Linked DNA regions of Homo sapiens: regions 1, 2, 4, 5, 6 and 7 are each linked to region 3. Evidence: promoter capture Hi-C in 16 types of primary human blood cells and fetal thymus (Javierre and others, 2016). All regions are on one chromosome and are shown on one strand. Each heading gives the region's core, a stretch centred on a gene start or on the middle of the fragment in contact. The rest is flanking DNA. Distances are from core to core; before and after follow the strand shown. Region 1 has its middle 12 kb from the start of OSR1. Region 2 holds the start of LOC105373465 (a long non-coding RNA gene). Region 3 holds the start of TTC32 (tetratricopeptide repeat domain 32). Region 4 has its middle 16 kb from the start of MIR4757. Region 5 overlaps GDF7 (growth differentiation factor 7). Region 6 has its middle 1.6 kb from the start of RHOB. Region 7 overlaps HS1BP3 (HCLS1 binding protein 3).

What was found. The method cuts DNA at HindIII sites, captures the fragments that hold promoters and counts their contacts. A CHiCAGO score of 5 or more calls a contact.
Region 1: a contact is called between a fragment that was not itself captured here and the fragment with the promoter of TTC32 in region 3, in 7 of 17 cell types (total CD8 T cells, naive CD8 T cells, neutrophils and 4 more). The highest score is 8.0, in total CD8 T cells.
Region 2: a fragment that was not itself captured here is called in contact with the fragment with the promoter of TTC32 in region 3 in 1 of 17 cell types (total B cells); the score reaches 5.5 in total B cells.
Region 4: a contact is called between a fragment that was not itself captured here and the fragment with the promoter of TTC32 in region 3, in 2 of 17 cell types (naive CD8 T cells and fetal thymus). The highest score is 7.0, in naive CD8 T cells.
Region 5: a contact is called between a fragment that was not itself captured here and the fragment with the promoter of TTC32 in region 3, in 1 of 17 cell types (total B cells). The highest score is 7.6, in total B cells.
Region 6: a contact is called between a fragment that was not itself captured here and the fragment with the promoter of TTC32 in region 3, in 1 of 17 cell types (total CD8 T cells). The highest score is 5.5, in total CD8 T cells.
Region 7: a fragment that was not itself captured here is called in contact with the fragment with the promoter of TTC32 in region 3 in 1 of 17 cell types (total CD8 T cells); the score reaches 6.7 in total CD8 T cells.

The regions. Positions count from the first base shown.
Region 1 is chr2:19,369,007-19,371,839 of GRCh38, forward strand. No RefSeq gene overlaps it. Among named protein-coding and RNA genes, the nearest start is that of OSR1, 12 kb to the left of the region's middle. RefSeq lists a silencer at 422-716. The HindIII fragment of the contact is 2,715 bases long and covers 61-2,775 here.
Region 2 is chr2:20,423,260-20,426,115 of GRCh38, forward strand. It overlaps LOC105373465 (a long non-coding RNA gene), which reads right to left and starts at 1,686. Exons shown (of 5, transcript XR_001739317.2): 1 at 1,493-1,686; 2 at 1-1,280. RefSeq lists enhancers at 1,581-1,740, 1,801-1,850. The HindIII fragment of the contact is 1,601 bases long and covers 634-2,234 here.
Region 3 is chr2:19,900,719-19,903,418 of GRCh38, forward strand. It overlaps TTC32 (tetratricopeptide repeat domain 32), which reads right to left and starts at 1,265. Exons shown (of 3, transcript NM_001008237.3): 1 at 988-1,265. The coding sequence starts at 1,136. RefSeq lists enhancers at 226-1,107, 358-547, 688-747, 828-927, 1,108-1,988 and 1 more. The HindIII fragment of the contact is 3,134 bases long and covers 1-2,390 here.
Region 4 is chr2:19,331,254-19,333,953 of GRCh38, forward strand. No RefSeq gene overlaps it. Among named protein-coding and RNA genes, the nearest start is that of MIR4757, 16 kb to the right of the region's middle. The HindIII fragment of the contact is 9,961 bases long and covers 1-2,700 here.
Region 5 is chr2:20,673,925-20,676,624 of GRCh38, forward strand. It overlaps GDF7 (growth differentiation factor 7), which reads left to right. Exons shown (of 2, transcript NM_182828.4): 2 at 1-2,700. Among named protein-coding and RNA genes, the nearest start is that of GDF7, 8.1 kb to the left of the region's middle. RefSeq lists enhancers at 1,801-1,920, 2,311-2,370, 2,381-2,480. The HindIII fragment of the contact is 3,834 bases long and covers 1-2,700 here.
Region 6 is chr2:20,444,011-20,446,849 of GRCh38, forward strand. No RefSeq gene overlaps it. Among named protein-coding and RNA genes, the nearest start is that of RHOB, 1.6 kb to the right of the region's middle. RefSeq lists a silencer at 2,773-2,839. The HindIII fragment of the contact is 1,836 bases long and covers 497-2,332 here.
Region 7 is chr2:20,641,709-20,644,463 of GRCh38, forward strand. The region is part of intron 2 of HS1BP3 (HCLS1 binding protein 3); the gene reads right to left. Among named protein-coding and RNA genes, the nearest start is that of HS1BP3, 8.0 kb to the right of the region's middle. RefSeq lists an enhancer at 973-1,102. The HindIII fragment of the contact is 448 bases long and covers 1,182-1,629 here.

The DNA.
Region 1 (2,833 bases), core at 168-2,667, 530 kb before region 3:
TTCCTCAGTGATGAGCTGGGGTCCTGGGTAGGGAGTGCCGAATCTGCCTCCTTTTCTTCAAGCTTCTTTCAAAGCAGTGTTTGTAGTGCCAGCACCCATTATCCACATCCTCATTGGTCTCAGGACCTAGCCATTGCCCTTGCTTTCTGTCATACTTGCCACAGTCTCTATGATCTTCAGTTGACATTCTATTGTTTTTGAATTTTGCTCAAGTTGCAGCCGCCTGGTAGCATTTATCTTCTCAGTTCCCTTGGGCCTTGGTGAATTCCTCAATAAGGTCCCATCTCAGCATCAGCATTTCCAGAAAACACAGGCACAATTTGCCTTCGTCTTCAGCTAAGGCTGAAGAACTTGATTCAGCCAAAAAATAACTGTTGTCTTTGCAATTTTGGCCCTCTGGCTGAAAGGTCTATTATCCAAGAATGCCATCCTACTGAGTAAGGTTGAATTTATAAGACACATGAATACATGAACAGACACACAAACACACTCTCTCCAAAACATAGCTATGGGTGGCTGCAGCGTGATGCTTTCTCCAAGAGATGGCGAGCTCATTCAAACAAAGTCTTGGCTTCTTCCCATGGGTGTGAGGCCAGCATTTAGTGGGAATAAATCACTTTAGGTTTTGAGTCTGGCTAGGTGTGAACTCAAAGGATGGAAAACCTTTTGGGGATGAGCTTTCCAGAAACCAGTGGCCAGCAGAGGTCACTTGGCCCAGGGCCTCCAGGAGTGGTCCAGCCATTGCCCCTCCATCCAGGATCATGGGCCTCAGCCCTGTAAAGAAGCAGCTTCCTCCCTAGAAAGACCAAGAGGTGGTGGAAAGAGACAGGCTTCTAGTCCATGTCTCTAGAACATGCCTCTCCCCAGCTACTTGTTTTTGGGCAAACAGCTTAACCACCTGAAACTTCAGTTTCCTCATCTGTAAAAACAGGATGAACACAAGTTCTATGGGATTATTGTGATTAATGAACTAACGTTTGTAAAGTTCGTGGCACAAAGGGAATAACTGATAAATCCTATTTTCTTCTGCAGACTAGACTGTGATTTTTATCACTTATTGAGCTGAAGGATCTTTTAGGAGAATTTCCTCCTCAAAATCAGAACCGTTCTCAAGCCTGGTGCTGCAAGTACAATAAGAACAACTGTGCCCATTATTACGCCAGTGTTGCTCAGTTCCAAGTCCACATTTCTACGCTCTGCTGTGTGACACCAGGGCTGGGATCTGCAGGCTAAAGTTTTCCTCTGTCAGATGACTTTCTCTTAGATTTTGCAAATAGGGGCATGGGAGCAGCAACCAGGGGTTGGCCTCTAGCGATGGACTTTCACTTAGCATCGCCAGTTGGTTCCAATCTTCAACTTCTTTCAGCACTCCCAGAACCAATCTCATCATGCCCTAGGAAGGTGCCCTCCCCAGTGGGGCAATAACTGTCCTCAGAGAGCTGAACCTCTACTCCATGGACTTCCTATAGACTTCCTGAGCCACCCAGAAGCAGCAAGGATGTGCTGCCTCCTCAGAGGGCTGAGCCCAGTCCTACAGGGTTCGTCCTCTGAGCTTCTAGATGCTGACACCCACAATCTTTGCCTTTGTTTCCCCACCCTTTCCCTAGTGCTCCCAGTTTGCTTTCTTGGACCAGTTTAACCCATCTTCTATATTAAATTCTCTCTGTTGAAATGCCTAGTGTGGTTTCTGTTGTCCTGACTGGACCCCAACTGATACACAGATCAAGAGTGCCAGTTTTCCTAGACGATCCTCATTCACACTGGCTTTCCTAGGATCTTGTCTTGTTTTTGTCCCAGACGCAATTGTCCTGGTTTCTGTGATAAATTGTAAAGTCGTTTAGTTATAGTTGTTCCCTTTAACAGGCCATGGTTGAAGAACTTTAAGCACCTGACATATTAGACTCCTTACTGCAGATTTCTATAAATTCTCTTTGATTTAGAACCATACTTGTATTCTCTACCTAGGAACAGAGTGTTCCTATTGATTGTTTAAAAAGAGGAAACTTCTTGAACACAGCTGAGTACTGAAGCTACAAAAGCATTGCCCATCCTGTCTTTCTTGTAAATCTACACATTATCCATGAGTTGTTCTCTTTATAGTTGCTTCCCAACCTGACCTTCTAGGGAAGAAATTTCTCCCACTTAGAATGTTTTATATACAGAGACCTTAGTTTTCATTCTGCAAGTTTTTTGTTACACTAAGGTCTTTCTTCCTATGCGATCCTAAAGTGACTAAACCTAAAGGTACTTCGGGATGTTCTCTTTGCCTGGGATGACATGCTCCTTCTCTTCTACCTATTTATACCTTATCCTCCCATCTGCTGAAATACCATTGCCTCCTGGAACTCTCTCCCCAGCTAGTGTCTTCTCCCTCTTATAAGCCTATTTCATGTAATTCTCCAACTCACTTTGGCACTTTACCACTTTCTTATTGGGCTTGGTATCTTTTACAAGGGGGTCTTGTATTTATTATAACTGTAAATGCATCTTTAACTTGTTAATTTGACCAACTGCTCAGTTCCTTTGTAGAACTGTTTGTGCTTTTTCTTTGAATCCCTTGCAGCACTCATCAATCTTTCTTTTTACTCCAATAATTCCAAGCCTCTTTTTTTTAGTCCATTTATGTCCATCCGCCTCCTGTTCCCTTACGTATCCCCCAAGTTCACGAACATACCAGGATCATTTCCACTTCTGTACTTTGGTTCACATTATTTCCTCAGTTCAGAGCATTCCTACCCCTTCACACTACTCATCCTTCCTGAATCATCCTTCAGAAGCTTCCTCTGACACTCCAGGCTGAGCTAAGTCTCCCTTCTCTGTGCCACCATCGTAC
Region 2 (2,856 bases), core at 184-2,683, 520 kb after region 3:
GGTGTCATTTCTTCCAGGCAGCTCTCTCTGGACCAGTTGTCCCACTGTGGCTTCCCACAGAGACATACACACGCTTCTATCCAGCACAGGATAGAAATGATCTCTTCATGCTTCTATCTCCCTTACTTGGCAATGAGCTTCTGGAGAAAAAGCGACTTTGTCTGTCAAGTTTTGTAATTCTCAGGGCTTACTGCATAGCTCTGTACATCTTTGTTGAGCCATAGCTCCTGCAGTTGTCAGCTCTCCCCGGAAGAAGGTTGAGGAGTAGGTGGAGCAGGATGGTTTTTCTTCAGGCTGTCTCTCATCCTGGGATTCCCAGGCACTGCCCCTTCATTCTCCGACAATAATAATGATTAACATTTGTTGAACCCCTGGCCGGCACCAGGCACAATTGTTCATACTTCCCATGTATCAACTCATTTAGTTTTCACAGATTTATGAACTGAGGTGCAGAGAAGTTAAGCGACTTGCCCAACGTTACACAGTGAGAAAATGGCAGAACCAGAACTTGAATCCAGGTAATCTGGGTTCCAGAGCCTGTGCCCTTAGCCCCTATGTTATTTTGTCCAAGGAGGATAGGAATCAGGAAAATGTGGCAAACTTATAATGCTGATGCCAACAATCAAAATAAGAAGCTTCCAGAAGAAGCTGCATAAGATAGTGTCTCACAGCCATGGGTGGACATGTGACACAATTCAGGGCCCTCCCTGTGGTTGTTCAAGTTGGTAGTGACAGAGCAGAGAAGCTCCTCTTAGGAGGTGAAGTTGGCTCCAGGCTTGCGGAAGAAGAGACTGACTTGCAGAGAGATGCAGGGGTGAGAGGGAATGACAGCGCCTCCTCTCCCTGCCCTGGGTCTTGGGCCTCTGAGCTGGTGAATCCCCCTTTTGCATTGCCTCATTTAATGTCAGTTTCTCACATTTGTGACTAAAGAGGCCTAACTAATACCAACTTATAATTTACAAAGTCCTGTCACAGGTCATTGATTCTTATGCCAGCATGAGGGGGCAGGCAGGGGGTCATATCCCCATTTCCAGAAGTGAAAACTGAGGCTTGGAACAGTTAAGTGACTTGCCAAGCAGCAAGTCAGTGGCAGAGCTGGCTGAGAAGCTGGTGCTTGGCCCCTCAGGCCAGGAGTCTGTCCTCTCCTCCGCCTTGTGCTCTCATGGGAGCTATGGAGAGGGGGTCTGGGTACCACCACCTGCCTCAGTACTCGTGGCTCGGAGCTTTGACCCGGCTGTGCTTCCTCTCATTCCTCTTGCTTTGTCTTGGGGCCTATGGGGCTGGGGGAAACAGGCACAGAGCTGGAGATGGCAGATTCTAGTACTACACACTCCACACCCCGACTTCCCATCCATGGAGCTCACAGGGAGAGGTTCCTGCAGCAGCTACAAGAACACCTCCCCCCCATACCAGCAACCAGGAAATCTCCCAGACAAACTGTGTACCCGGACTGTGGAGGCCACCCACCCCGCACCTCACCCACTCCTGGTACCTCCAGGGCCTGTAGGGAAGCTCCCCGCCCCCAAACCAGCTTTGGGGCTCTCTCTCTGGCCTGGGCCCCAGCTTCGTGGGGGAAGTGGGTGTAGCAGCCTCCTCTGGCCTGGGGGCTGGGAAACCTCAGGCACCTCTGCCTCCGCAGCTGGTAATCCAGCTTGGGCTTGCCAGAGGCCAGTCAGCTCCTCTTCTGAATCTGGATTAGAATCTTCTCGACCCTGGCAGGAAGAGCAGGAGGCCTGCGGTTGGAGGGCATTTCCTGTTTACTGCTGGTGTCAGTGTTGGTCTGAGAGGTCCACCCTTCTGTGGTTAAGTGAGCCCGGACATCTCCCACCCTCCCTTCAGGCCGACTCACATCCCTCGCCTGGTCCTTGTGAGAAGGTCTCTGCTTCCTCTGGTTCAGGGGAGCAGGTTACCATCTCTGGGTTTGCTCTCCTCCCCTTGCCTGGGCTGAAATGAGTCTTTCTAATGACAGCAGCAGTGGCCTGCCCTGTTGCCAAATTTAGCAAAAAAAAAGAAGAAGAAAGAAAAAAGAGAAAAAGGATGCAGGTTAAATTTGAATTTCAGATAAATAGCAAATAATGTTTTAGTGTTAGTAGTTCCTGTGTATTATCTGCGGATCCTAAATGAAGCTGGAGCCCAGGGAGATGAAGTGTCTTTTGGGATCTGATGATGAGCAACACAGGATTCCAGCCACTCAGCCGAAGACTCTATGCCCCCAACAGTCTGCCAGCCAGTCAAGCTTGGCCACTGTGGCTGGCTGTGTCTATCCTGCTGTGACTCCTGTCCTGTGATCATAGGTGTTCCCCCTGTAGGTTGTGAGATGGGGAGATAATGATTTAACCCCACCTCAAAGAGAGGCAGACACTCCCAAGCAGTGATTTTCAAAGTTTGGTCACACAGCAGCAGCAGCAGCAGCAGCAGCAGCATCCGTGATAATTAATTTTATGAGTCAACCTGACTGGGCGATGGGGTGCCTGGATATCTGGCCAAATGTTATTCTAGGTGTCTCTGTGAAGATGTTTCTGGATGATGTTAACATGATGTTAACTTTTTTTTTTTTTTAAAGACAGCTCACTGCAACCTCCACTTCCCAGGTTCAAGCGATTCTCGCGCTTCAGCCTGCTGAGTAGCTGGGACTACAGACACACACTACCATGCTCAGCTAATTTTTTGTATTTTTAGTAGAGAAGGGTTTCACCATGTTACCCAGGCTGGTCTTGAACTCCTGGCCTCAGGCAGCCTGCCTCCTCAGCCTTCCAAAGTGCTAGGATCATAGGCGTGAGCCACCACATCTGGCTGATGTTAACATTTGAAATGTCAGGCTGAATAAAAATTGTCCTCCCCAGTGTGGGTGGGCGC
Region 3 (2,700 bases), core at 15-2,514:
CGAATCGTTATGTGCTTCCTGGTGAAAGTACACACACCCACCTAAAAAGTATTCTTGCCATGATATTGAATCTGAATTCAATTGGATCAAACCTCAAGGTTTAACCACCAATTCACAGCAATATGAGACAGATGACCACATTAAACGACAGAAGAGATTCAGTCAGCAAGTCCAAAACACGGAAATTCAAAGGACACAAGAATCGGTTTCCTCAACAAATAAAGAGGGGAAGGTGGAGAAGAGACTTAAAAAGACTTGATGTGTATCCTGACTTGAACTAACTGCGAAAAGGGAACCAAAGAACAAAACACCTTATTAGTCGATCAGAATGGTTCCAACACTGACGACTTGATATTAAGTAACTATGTGATGATGACATGGTGGTTCCTTCTGAAACATCCATGGATGAATACAATAGGTAAACTGATAATGCTTAAGCCAAGTGATAAACACCTAGACGTTCGTTATGCTCTCTTCCACATATTTAAACGTTTTTCACAAGTGAAAAACACCACCAAGAGCCTGCGCCGTGACACTGAGATGGGAGTCGCGGTACTGTGGCCCTACGCAGCCGTGACCCCTTCCCTTCCCAGGTCGCGGATTTCCCGCCAGCTAAAATCACGAGTGGAAAATTCCTATCTGTCCTAAGTCTCTGGGTGCGAATGAGGAACGTGGAAGGAGAGACGGCGGGGTGAGAGGCGGCGGCCCGCGCCCGAGGATCGCGCAGAGGGCTTGGTTCCCGGAAATCTCTCCGCACCGTCGCGGCAGCTGGCTCCTCACGGGTGGGCTTCTCCCCGCGTTCTCCGCCGCCCTCGTCCTAGGCCTCGCCTAGGCCTTTCTAGAAAGACGAACGTCCGCCCGCTCAGTCCTAGTGCTGGGTTATGACAAGCGCCGACCGTGAGCTCCAGAGGCAAAGATAGGAGCCCAAACAACCCCAACGTCGCCTCCACCCGGGGTCGCCGCGGCCCCAGGTCTCGCGATAGTTACCTCCCGGGACTCTCGTCGCTGGAGGCCGCGCAAGCGCACCGGCGAATGTAAGCGGAGTACAGTGCCTCGGCCTCCGCGTACTCTCCATTGTTGAAATGAGCCTGGGCGAGTGTTAGGGTTGCGTGGCTTTCTTGCCGCTGTCCTTCCATAGCAGCCAAGGCCTAGTTTTCGGTGTAGAATGGGGGTTGACCTCCGAGCGGTTAGAGGTGGCACCACAAAGCCACTTCCACACCCTGGAATCTACCTTGACAGCCAACCTTGGCGCTAGGTTTGTGCCTTATGGGGATCCGTCGTCTCGCGAGATAACGGTTCCGCTGCTGGCGGGGCGTTTGCAGTGGCCCTTGTGAACTATGTTTCTGCCGTTACCAGTGTTGGACCCGCCTTCCTCTTTTCCTAGAAAAGGCGCAGATGCGTGGTCGCAAACTGATTTCCAAGTCCGTTGTCTGATGCTGCGAGACACTATCCGTTTGTTACAGCGAATTGGGGGCCGATGACGCTGGAGGTGGAAGAAGCCGCGGTTCTGTTTCTTAATGGCGAATTAGCCTGCGGACGTCCTGTCATTCCCTTGCCTTTTAGCGTCCCAACTTAGCAAAACTCCGCGTTTAGGGTGTTCTGAGTAGGCTTTGTCTACCCTGAAACGCTTTGTGTCGACATTCCACCAGGTCTGTTCCACGGTCCAAACTTCTCTACCTTTTTTGACCCTCTAGAATTGTGTTACGATTAGTAGTATATTGTGTCGAGAGTCTGGGATCTTTGATGTTAGTTATATTCCCTGGCTGTTTATGCCAAAGGGAAATCCAAATAGTAATTTATTACGTACATTACGTATAATTCAAATTAAAATTTTGTAAGAACAGTTGCCAACCACGCTACCCTACATGCCTGCTGTGTATCTTCTCGGCGTCCCTCGATTCTGTTTTGCTTCCCAAAGTACTTGAGCCCTTTCCGTCATAAAAAGTAAAGATGAAAAATATATTTGGAGCATGATACTTACATGCGGAAGTCTTAACAGGACATAAATTGTGTGCTTTTGGCTGCTTTCATTAGATTTTTAATTTTTTCCTTTTACCACCACTGAAAAAAATACAAATACAGTGGATTAAGGTTAAATTAAAAAGCACTAGTAGAAATTAAAAGATTGCAAGACTACAAAAAAATAAACTGGCATTTCTGGTGTAAGCAAATGGACAGCTCAATAGAACAAAAGCCCAGAAACATACCTCAAATAGGCTGTATTTTGTAAAAGACATGTAACATATATGGGGAAAGGACAGATTATTCAAATGAGTGCTATTGGGAGGATTAGTTAACCATTTGGGGAAAAATACATTTAAGCATTTAAGCTCCCAATTGACATAATATTCATTCCAGGTGAATTAAAAGATTAAATAAATAAGATAAAAAGCTTTTTTTTTTCAGTTCCCATTTATTTTTGCCTCTTGGAGCAATGTCATCTTTTCAATATGAAAAAAACAAAACAAAAAACAAATCTGAAGTACAGGATAGAACAAAACCAAGTGTGTTGGGGGAAGCAACAGCAAAGGGAAGACAAGATGTTGCAAAAAAAAAAATGGAGGGGGGATTCCCCTCTCCTCTGGGGAATGACTCAAACACTGATGTGGCAGCGTACACTATTCTACATAAAGCCAGGGATGTTAATCCTTTTGGGGGATAAGAAAAAGTGGAGATGGCCAGGCTCTGTGGCTCATGCCT
Region 4 (2,700 bases), core at 164-2,663, 570 kb before region 3:
TTCCCCTTACCTTAGGATACCACCTCCACATATATATATAAATAAATACATATATATATAATATATATGCTCACACACACACACACACACATACACACACATGCATATGTTGATGTATGCATGGGTGTATCTGTGCACATAAGTTTCCCTGGTACCTAATTATTGACTACCTAAAGGTGTCTAATTCTTCCCTGAATTCCTAAATTCTGGTAAAGTTTCAGGCACATAGAATGAAGCCAAGTATCTGAAAAGTGAATTTAAAGGCAGAGCATGTGCATAGAATTTTTGCCCAAACTGAAACAAGAATAACTCTCCCATGAGCCTTAGCCAGGAAGAGTCTAGCCTGTCTGTGTGCACAGCTCCAGAGTTGGGAGACATCACAGAACCACCAAACCTACCCCCTGCTGCTGCCAATAAGGGAGTTGGCCAGGAAACACTTTTCCATCAAGCACCACAAATAATTCATCCCACAGACTCCCATGATCACACCTTCTATGTGCCAGGCCCTCCAGCTATGAATAAGAAACCAATGTGGTTTAATTTATAACTGCTTTTTTTAAAATTCTGAAGAAAGCTGAATTCATAAAACAGGAGATAACAATGGAAATTATTTTTGCTGAATAACTACTGTGTGCCAGGTTAATTGCACACATTGTCCCATGTAAGCATTGCACCAACTGAGAGAAAGAAATCATTTTCTCCATCTCAGGAAACTCTAGGAAGATGTGACCCTCAGTCTGTGGGCCCCAAGGTGCGTGCTGTGAGATTGGGGATTGATTGCACCAGCATCCCTGTTCCACTCACTATCTGTTTCCATTTCTTCTGCAGTTCATCAGAGACGGTAACCCAATTTGAACACATATTACAATACAGTCTACTAATGTTTCTTCATAATAGAAAAACAGTAAAGATTTCCTGTCATAATACTAAATGCCACTTAAAGGAGTTACAGATGCTGAATCTGAGCAGATTAGCCAAGTTATGGTATAAACTCCAAGTTTCAGAACTGTATCCCTGAGGCAAAGTAAAATGTCCAGTGGTGGTTACCCCATTCCTCCACAAAAATAAAAAAAAACAGTTTTCTAAAATGTGATGCATATAAAATATTAAATTTCTTAAACTATGTTGGCTTTTGGCTGGTTGCATGTTTTCTGTTGGAGTTAATACCACATGTTAAGGTGTGGGAATTTAAGATAGGCATCTAAGACAGTGAGCCATTTAAGAAAACCAAAATTTAAAAACAGCAATGCTCTCCACACACTCCAACTTGTGTTACATTGCCTTTAGTCCTCACCGTTTGTTTTTTGTTTGTTTGTTTTTTGCTATGCAATGTGGAATCCTTGGCCACAGCTCTGGGCAATCAGAGCAGAGAAGCACATGCTGAACAAGTAATTGGTGTTGATGTGTGTCCTCTAGGCTCTGCTTTTTGGGAGGCCTTGCCAATGTCCTCATTGAGATCATTATCTTCCAGCTTTGTGCTTTGATCCCAGATCTGGAAAAAGTGTGCTTCCTAGGCTGCAGGCCTCCCCCATCCTATATCTCCCTCCTTATCTCAGAGCACTGTCACTGAGTCAAGAGTTGGATCGGCTTCTCACTGTTCATGATCTTTACATAATAGCTGACACATTAAATTATGATGTATCTTCACTGGGCTAAGCTCATTACATGAATGATTTTATTTATTCTTCACAATTCAATTATGCATATATTTTAATTACCCCATTTTACAAATAGTGAAACTAGAGCTATCCTAGAAGACAGATTCCACAAGGACTTTGTCTTACGTTGCTGTAATTCCAGGGCCTAGAACACTGCCTGTGTCTAAGTGCTCAAGAAGTAATCATTAAGTCGATGAATGAATGAATGAAGCCAAGGAAAATTAACTTAGTTGTCCAAGCCATACAACTAGTAAGTGTTGAGTCTGGAGAATATTTACGAAAGTGGGATTTCCTGTGTTCTTGTGTGATGCCCATGTTGACATTCCCCAGGCAGGTTCAAGATAGGAGTCAACTTGGCAGCACGGTGCAGGGCACAAGGCACAGGCTGGGAGGGACACAGGCCTGAGACCTGGGCTCAGTTCTGCAGCTTACTAAGTGACATTAGACAAATCACTTAACTTCTCTTAGCTTCAGATTCCTCATCTATAAAATAAGAACAATAATACTCACTTTTTAGTGTGCTTGTGTGGATTATAAGAGCTAAAATATGTGAAGTGCCTAGTGAAGTGTATTTTATATAGTATGTGTTCAACAATTTGTAGCTATTGTATAATGATTCTTAACCTTACCATACCCCAAAAAAGCACAGCATCACTTCTCCAAATCTAATCATGAGGACTTATTACACAGTCCCAAAGGTGGGACATTTTACCATATAATCAGCCTATCATCTTCAAAATTGTTGTGATTATGAAAGTCATGGAAAGACTAAGAAACAAGTTGAGACTGAAGGAGACTAAAGACACATGACAACTGAATGCAATATAAGATCATGACTTGGATCCTTTTTCTATAAAAGCCATTGTTAGGCAAATTGGTGAAACTTGAATGAGATCTGCAGGTTAGATGGCAGTAATATATCAGTGTTAATTTTCTGATTTTGATTTTGATAGTTGAATGGAAGTTTTTTTTGTTTTGTTTTTTGTTTTTTGAGACAGAGTCTCACTCTATCTCCCAGGCTGGAGTACAGTGGAGTGATCTC
Region 5 (2,700 bases), core at 201-2,700, 770 kb after region 3:
TGAAGCCCCCAGGGGCCACTCTGCCCAGCCCTCTGGCATCTCAGTCCATTCACTAGGTGAATGCAGAGGATCCATTTCACTTGTAAAAATGACAACAAAGGGCCAACACATGTGGGGCAGACGGCTTTTTGCTGCTAAGATGTGGTTTAACTAGCATTGCCAAGGTGTGGAGAAAAGCGTTCTGCCAGCACAGTTGGTAGTAGCACCCTGAGCTCTCTGTCTTCTAGGTAGCGGGGGACAGGCCTGGGTGACTGGCATGAACCCAGCTTCTCTGTTGCAACCCCCAGCTGGAATCTCCAGTCACCATGGATGGGAGAACTGACAGGCAGGGAGAAAGCATGTCAAGACTGTGAGGAAAGGCTGTCCCCTCAACCCCAACCTGAGGTCACCAAAGTCTCCCTCCTAAAGTAAACAGAATTTTCCATTTTGTAGGGAGAATTGTGCACTACTAGTTGACATCACTTGAACCAGGATTTCCTGCTAGTGAGTAGGATTTGGCATCCCTACTTAGGGAGCTCGGGACAGGCCAGCTGGGGCCCAACGGGGGCTGGTGCTGGGTCTGTCAAACACAATGATAGCCTGGTCACTGCTGCTTGAAACCAGGGCTTTCGTATTAAGGAGGATCACCCACACTGGCAGGCGGGCATTTCCACTGATTCCCAAACACACTTGCCTTGTTGAATTCTGACTTTCCAAACAGCCGCACTGGGTCTTCCAGAGAAGGTGGCAGGCTTTGCTGTGTTAGCTTGGGGAAGCCAGGCTTGAGCTGTGCTCAGTCATTGTATCCATGCTCCCCTTCACCATACCCTCCTGGCAACGATATGAGGTGTGGATTGTGTGATAGAAGAATCCAGACTCCACGAAGCCAAGGACAGTCACTTCTCCCTGGCAGCTCTCATGGTGTCGGCAGGAGTGGGCGCCTCACCTTGGGTACTGAAGAGAGTACCGATAATCCCGTGGATGGAACAGGAGGGAGTGTAATTCAATCCCTACACATTGTATATGCTGTTGGCAATTTCATTTAAACTCACAGCAGAAAACAACCAGGATTTGTAGACTGATTTTCTTCTTAGAGCAGGGAGAAAAATTACGTTCTTTCCAAGAGCAGCTCGTGCACAGATAAGGTCAGACTTTTCCTGTGCTTGAATCTGGTCTCCAGGAAATCCAGTGGCAGGAAGAGAGTGTCCTGAGGCTGCCTCTGGGGGCACAGAATCACTGGGCCTCGCTGATTCTCATGAGAACCTGTCATCTCAGTGAGACAGGCCTCCCACTGGCCCTCAGTGGGCCATAGGCCAAGAGGTCTGAGTCAGATCGCGCAGTGAGCTGGAGGGAGCGAGGCTCTGAAAGCAGCAGTCTAGCAGAGGGAGTTTGGGCCTGCGCTTACCCCTCAGAAAGTGTCTGGATTGGGAAGGGAAGAGAGGAAGCTGCCGAGCGAACCCAGCAGCCAAACTTTGGGTGAGTGGAAAGTAACTAGATCCCTCTGGTGGATGGTATATTTGAGCTGCACCAGAGTCAGAGCCCACTGTGGGCTTCCGAGTGCCCAGAGGCAGCTGCTCCCACAGCACGGACTGCGCCCGCCAGGGGAGGCCGCTCAGGGGCCAGGGCACCACAAGGCGTCTCCTGAGAGACGTCTGAGGCAAGTTATGGGCAGTCACCTCCCTGCTGGAGCTTCATCTTCTGCCCTGTAAAATGATGCCCTTTCCAGTTCCAAGGTTCTAGGATTTTACCTTGCCTCAAAACCCACTCAGATAGCTTGAAGGCAGAGCAAATGTGATGGCTCCTGGAGAAGGTCCTCTCCCAATCCCAGTCCCAGAGCCTCATCTTACCGGTTTCGCAGCTCTTGCCTGTGCATGTGCATGTGTGTGCGTGTGTCCATTTTACTCCTATCCTTAATAGGTGCCTCATGGATGTGCTTTGAATTCCCCTGGGCTGAGGTAGGTGTGGGGAGGGCCCGCACCTTGAGGGTGGGGTTCAGCTCCCCAGAGCCAGGAGCTGGCTGAGGGCACTGCCCATCCAGCTGCAGTTCCTCCTGTGCTCAGTGGGGTGGGCGGAGCCACACTCAAGCTGAGACTGTCTGAGAGACCTAGTGCTGGGAAGGGCTCTACCTGCTGCTGGGGCCTCTGCAGGCAGAAGGGTAAAGGCAAGGCTGTGCCTGGTTGGTCACCCAAACGGGGGCCTGGGACTGTCCCAGAAGCCCTGGATGAGGCAGGCAGGACTGTCCCAGAATGGACTCCTTGGGTCCTCACCCCCTCCTCACCACCATGCCCATGTCTGGCTCTGAGGTCCCCTTGCAGCTTCCCAGGGGAGTGACCCTGGGGTAGCATCAGAAGAGCTTGTCTCTCTCTTCCTTTTTGTGGTCTGGAGAAGTTAACATAAAGAAGCACCAGAAGGGAGGACCCAAAAAGATGTTTATTTCTAAGTTTTCAGACAGCTTGGCATCTTGTACCTGGAACCTCCTGACCATGTAGGCTGCAGCACAGCTGTCTTCCTCCCTCTGTGCTGTTCTGGACTTTAATCTGTGTGCACAGCTTAGTGCGTCACAAATAGTAACTGAGTGAGGCTGTTGTGAAAGAAGCCTGTTTTTTTCAGGAGGGCCACCGTCCTAGCCTGAGGAGACACCTGGTGGACACAGACTGCAGGGAGAGGGCTGAAAGTTGGCCTAGTGAATCAGAGGGGTGACTGAGGGCCTAGAAGTTGCCG
Region 6 (2,839 bases), core at 165-2,664, 540 kb after region 3:
GGGCTTGTCCGGCATATCACCTAGTTGGGAAAAGTTTATCCTGTGTGTGGGGCAGTCTTGGAAGCAGCCAGTCTCTGCAGAGCTTGTCAAAGTATCCTGGACTAAAAAAAAAAAAATACCATGAAAAGAAGTTACTAAAGAAGTTACTGCAGAACACAGATCTATTTGTTTACTTTGGCATTTTTACCAACTGCATAGTTTTAGAAATTATTGCAATATTGAGATTTGAGCTTGGAACACCTCATATAATATTCCTGGAAATCAGAACACGAAGGAGTTCAATCCGTTTTCCGGATTCTTTGTTTTTTAAAGAAAAAAACACATGGTACAAAGCTTTGTTTCATATTTCTTGGTATTTGAAGTTTAAGGACATAGCCAAGTTTCCCAAGCTATATTAAGACCAAGGAAAGCGGCGTTAACAATACAGCTATAAAAGGTTTTGACTAAAAGAAGAAAAATTTGTGTAAATAAGACTTTTCTAATAGGAAAAAAAAAAAGCTTCCAGATTGCATCCTTAAATCAATGAACAGAAAAACTATTTACTTGCTGACAGATCAGTTCCTTAGATCTGAAAAACAAACCCCCGCCCCCCACCGCCCCGGCCAACAACAACAAAAAAAAGCTGGTTGGCCGGTTGTTGTAGTGATGTGAATCCAGTCTGAGGGAAGCACAGCACTTCCAGTCGTCTAAATAAGACGTTCCCTCTAGGAAGGGCTCTAGGCTTAGCAGCACTACTGCCTTATTTGATCTGATTTCATCTGTGGAGCCATATGGGGACCTAGCTCTTAACATATGAATTACATGTGAAAACACCGGGGTTCAGTCACAGTTGGCTGCATGGGTTTGCTTAATGATTTTCTTTTTAATGTTTACTTTTTTTTTTTCTTTTGAGCCAGGGTCTCATTCTGTCACCCAGGCTGGAGTGGGGTGTTGTGATCATAGCTCACTGCAGCCTTGCCCTCCTGGGCTCAAGCAATCCTCCCACCTCAGCCTCCTGAGTAGTTGAGATTATAGGTGCAGGCCACTCTCCTCCCCACGCCATCCCATTTTATTTTTCTCAGGGACAGGGACGGGGTTTTGTCATGTTACCCAGGCTGGTCTTGAACTCCTGAGCTCAAACAATTCTCCAGCCTGGGCCTCCCACGCCCAGGGATCACAGGCATGAGGTACTGTGCCCGGCCTGGTTAGATAATTGTTAAAGCGAAGTGTGGAACTGAGGTAAGAAACCCCCAGAAAATTCCACCTGCGTTTCTGAGCATTCGGGTTAATTCCCCACAGTCATTTACTGATCCTTGTAAATGCCAGGCATTGTGCTGGGTCTTCAAGATGCGGAGATAAGACAGAATCCTGGCCCTCCAACAACTGACAGAGACCGAGACAGAGACGGAGACAGGAGGCAACCACCTCCCGGTCATGTGGTGGGTCCCTCCTTTGCTGAAAAAACAGTTTGCAGACATTTCCCATGCAATGGATAGACAGAGCCCAGCCCATGCTGTTAATACTTTAGCACTCATGAGCCCCAGCATATGCAGCTCCTAGAGTTTGCCCCGCTCCTTCCCACCTTCCTGCTTGTGTTCAGGCTGTTTCTCCTGCCCGGGAGCCCTCCCCGACTCCCCTTTCCCCCTATCCCCTTCTTCCTCTTTTATCCGTAGAAATCGGTTGACTTGGGTCTTTCCGGATCACCGGTACTGTCATTTCATGCAGGATCTACAGGATAAATGAGTTCAGTCCTGGCGTGCATCAGGAGGCTACGCCCCAATAGAGGGGACACCCCCTAACCCGCTGTGCCCCATTTGCTAGCCCCTTACTCCTCCCCTCTTCTCCAGCCTCAAGCCTTTTCGTCTGCTCAGGGGTCTTGGGGTGGTTGGATTCTATTGAACCCGGAATATTGTACGTTCTATTGTACAATAGTGTATATTCTATTGTACATTCTATTGTACAATAGTGTATATTCTATTGTACATTCTATTGTACAATAGTGTATATTCTATTGTACATTCTATTGTACAATAGTGTATATTCTATTGTACATTCTATTGTACAATAGTGTATATTCTATTGTACATTCTATTGTACAAGTGTATATTCTATTGTACATTCTATTGTACAATAGTGTATATTCTATTGTACATTCTATTGTACAATAGTGTATATTCTATTGTACATTCTATTGTACAATAGTGTATATTCTATTGTACAATTTATCTCAGACAGTTCTCTGTTTTAAGAACCGGGATCAGAGTTCATAGTGAAAAGAGGGGCCGAAGGGGCTTCTTCCTGTCCGGTAACTTCCTCCAAGTGTTCGAGCCTCGACCTTCCCTTTCCGTTGTCAAGCTTGGGCCACTCCGCACCTCTTCCCTTAATCTTCACCTAGAGACCTAAGCTGGGGGTTGGGAAGGGTAGGGGCGGCGGGACTTGGAAGAGCCAGTTTGCAGCCAGCCGGTCGCCTCTCGGGTCCAAACCCGAGGCTGGCCCACGGCGAGTACCCGGGTGGGGCCCTAAACCACAGGAGGGGCCACCTCCAAAAGAAAAGAGAAAACACTCTTGTTTGGGAACAAAAGTGTGTGTGTGGGGTGTGTGTGTGTGTGTGTGTGTGTGTGTGTCTGTTTATTTAAAAACAAAACCACGTTAAAAGAGCTGCCCCTCCCCCACAGGCCCGACCACCCGCCGGGAGTTTGCCAGGAAGAGGGGCAATTCTGAATGGGAGTCGCCAACGCCCCACTGAGTGAAGCCTGTCTCGGAACCGCTCGCCCAGACCCTGGAGGCTCCAGACAGCCAGCTCCCGGACCCCGCGCGCAAACGCTGCGGCGAAGGAGGGGACCCGGGTACCGCCAGAGCC
Region 7 (2,755 bases), core at 156-2,655, 740 kb after region 3:
AGGCACCCGAGTCAAGCAGGCCAGGACTCTTGCTGTCATCAGAAGGCAGCCTTGAGCACCATCTGACTCAGAGAGGGCAGCACTCAGCTTCCCGTGGGGCCAGCGGCTGACTCCCGCTGCCTCCTTGGCCTCTCCCCACAGCTCCTGGGCAGCTAAGCCTTCACCCCTTCACTCACGGAGCTCTTGCTGCATGTTCACTCTGTACAGAGACACCCCAGCAGGCTCTCAGTCTCACAGTGGTTTCAGTGCCATCGCCGTGTCTGTAACCATGTGGGTGCTCAGCGAAGTCACCTGCTGTATACACACACCATCGGCCTGGCACCTACCCTCACTCCTAGCTCCTCTATCACCTGCTGTATGCACACACCATCATCCTGGCACCTACCCTCACTCCTCGCTCCTCTGTGCTTTCCCCATAGACTGGGCCTGTCTCCCCCGACTGAAGTGTGGGTCACTCACTCTTATGCTCCCAGGCCCGGACTGTGCCCACAGTGTGCCACTGGAGTGCTGGCGTGCAGGGGCTGCGGGCATCTGACGCCCTCGGGCTCGGGGAGATCCCTTGGTGCAGGGTGTGTCTGGAACACACATCCTTGGCTCCAGCAACACCACCCAGAATGCCCAGCCTGTGAAGGGTCAAGATACCAGGAGGCAGCTGGGGGGATTTCAGAACCTCCAGTGGGGAGTCACCTGGGACAGGTGCTGCTTGCAGTTGTCAGCACAAGAGCCTGGCTCCAGACTTTCCTGAAAACAGCCCTCAGGGAAAGGCACACGGACCCCTTCCCAGAGCGATTGCTAACACAGGCTCCGACAGCAGCTGTGACTCCAGCCCGGCCCGCAGAGCAGGCCACGGTGGGGGCCGGGCGCCCCCTGCTGGCCCGACTGCTCCCCTCAGGCTCAGACCACAGACCCAGCATATCCAGGCTCGGGGAACCTCCATCTCCAGGGCACTGGCATCGTGAGTACTCCGGAGCTGTAGGCCTGGGCTCCCACCCCACCCAGGGCCCACGTCCATCAGGGGTTCAGGCAGGGCTTCTTGGGTGGGCATCTGCACCAGCAACAAGAGGAGGCCAAGTAAGAGACCCTGAGCAGAGGAAGCTCAAGGTTGAGAACTCACATTTATCTGGTGCCCCCGTGTGCCAGGCACTGCTGAGCACGGGGCAGACAGCCCTGTAACGTTAGTAAGCTTGTGGGTGTCTGCACTGCTAGCACATCCAAGAGCCTGCACAACCTCCACTGCGGTGCCCCCTCCTGCGGCTGTTTTACTCCATGGTCAGCAAATCAGTACACGTTTATATTAAAACACATATGCCCTTTTAAGTAGATACAAAATGCTCATTAATTCTTTGAGTTAATTCATGAAACATCAAAGAGACTTCAGGCTTGGGGGTATGTAACTTTAGGCTCCATCCTGAGATCCCATGGGGAGTAAAGGAGTTCTTTGCCCTCGCAAGTACTTTCAAATGTCTGACAAGCCCCTGCACGCACACACTCCACGAGGAGTGGGCGTCACTGCCTAGGAAAAAGTGGCACTAGTGTGATTCATGGAGGTGTTAAAACACCCTCATGTACACCTTGCATGTAAGGCCGGCCCTCTGCACAGAACCAAGTGGGCTGGGCGGCTGAAGCCCAAGCTTCCCAGAATGCTCCCTCCTTCATGCCCCGCAACATCAAGCTCAAATACTCTCCTCTTCTGCTCCTGTCTCTGAAAATGTGGGTGCATTGAGCTCCAACCTGGATCAAGTCAAATTACCAGGAGCTGCAAAGCACCCTGTAAAGCAGATTCACTCTCAGAGCAATGCAGGCCCAGAATCACCCCTGACATCACACGTTGCTTCTCACCAAGAGTCGGCCACAGGAGCAATCAAATGAAAAACAGCATTGCTATTCTAGACGCTTCTCATGACGTTGTTGAATGTCCCTTAAAATTGTGTGGCTGGGCGTGGGGGTTCACACCTGTAATCCCAGCACTTTGGGAGGCTGAGGCAGGAGGATTGCTTAAGCCCAGCTTGAGGAGTTTGAGACCAGCCTGGACAACATAACAAGACACTATGTCTACCAAAAAAATTAAAAAAGAAAAAGCTGGGCATGGTGGTGTGTGCCTGTAGTCCTAGATACTTAGGAGGCTGAGGCAGGAGGATTGCTTGAGCCCAGGAGTTCCAGGCTGCACTGAGCTATGATCACACTACTGCACTCCAGTCTGGGGAACAGAGGGAGATCCTATCTCTTAAAAAAAGGAAACATTTGTGCTGTAAATTTCTCTTAAAATTTAGTGTCTCTTTCAACAGGTCACCAGAAAGATGCAACTCATCGTTTCCCTTTTTATCTTGGTTGCCAGGAGACTCCAAGCTAGCCCCGTGTCACTCCCTGCTGTACTTCGGGGTCTAGTTCATTTCACCTTTGTCCTAATAATCCTGGACCTGTGTCTCTTGGTCTCCAGCTGCAGGTCCTTTTCACAAGAGGCCAAATGGTAAATAATAAGCCAATGAGTGTGTGATCTCAACCCTCTTGAAATTCTCTCCTCCCTTAGCTCCTCTGACTCCGTAGATACCCACCCAGTTCTCTCCTCTCTGCCTCAACTGCAGACTCCTCCTTCTCCCCAAGAGTCCCTGAACCCCTGGCATCCTCAGGATTTCCTCCTCAGCCCTTCTCTCTGCCTTCCACTTCTGTTCTCTGGGCAACTTGATCCACTCCCAGATTTTTAATATCACCTCCAAGTTGATGACTCCCAAGCCTACATCTCAGGCCTGAGCTCGTC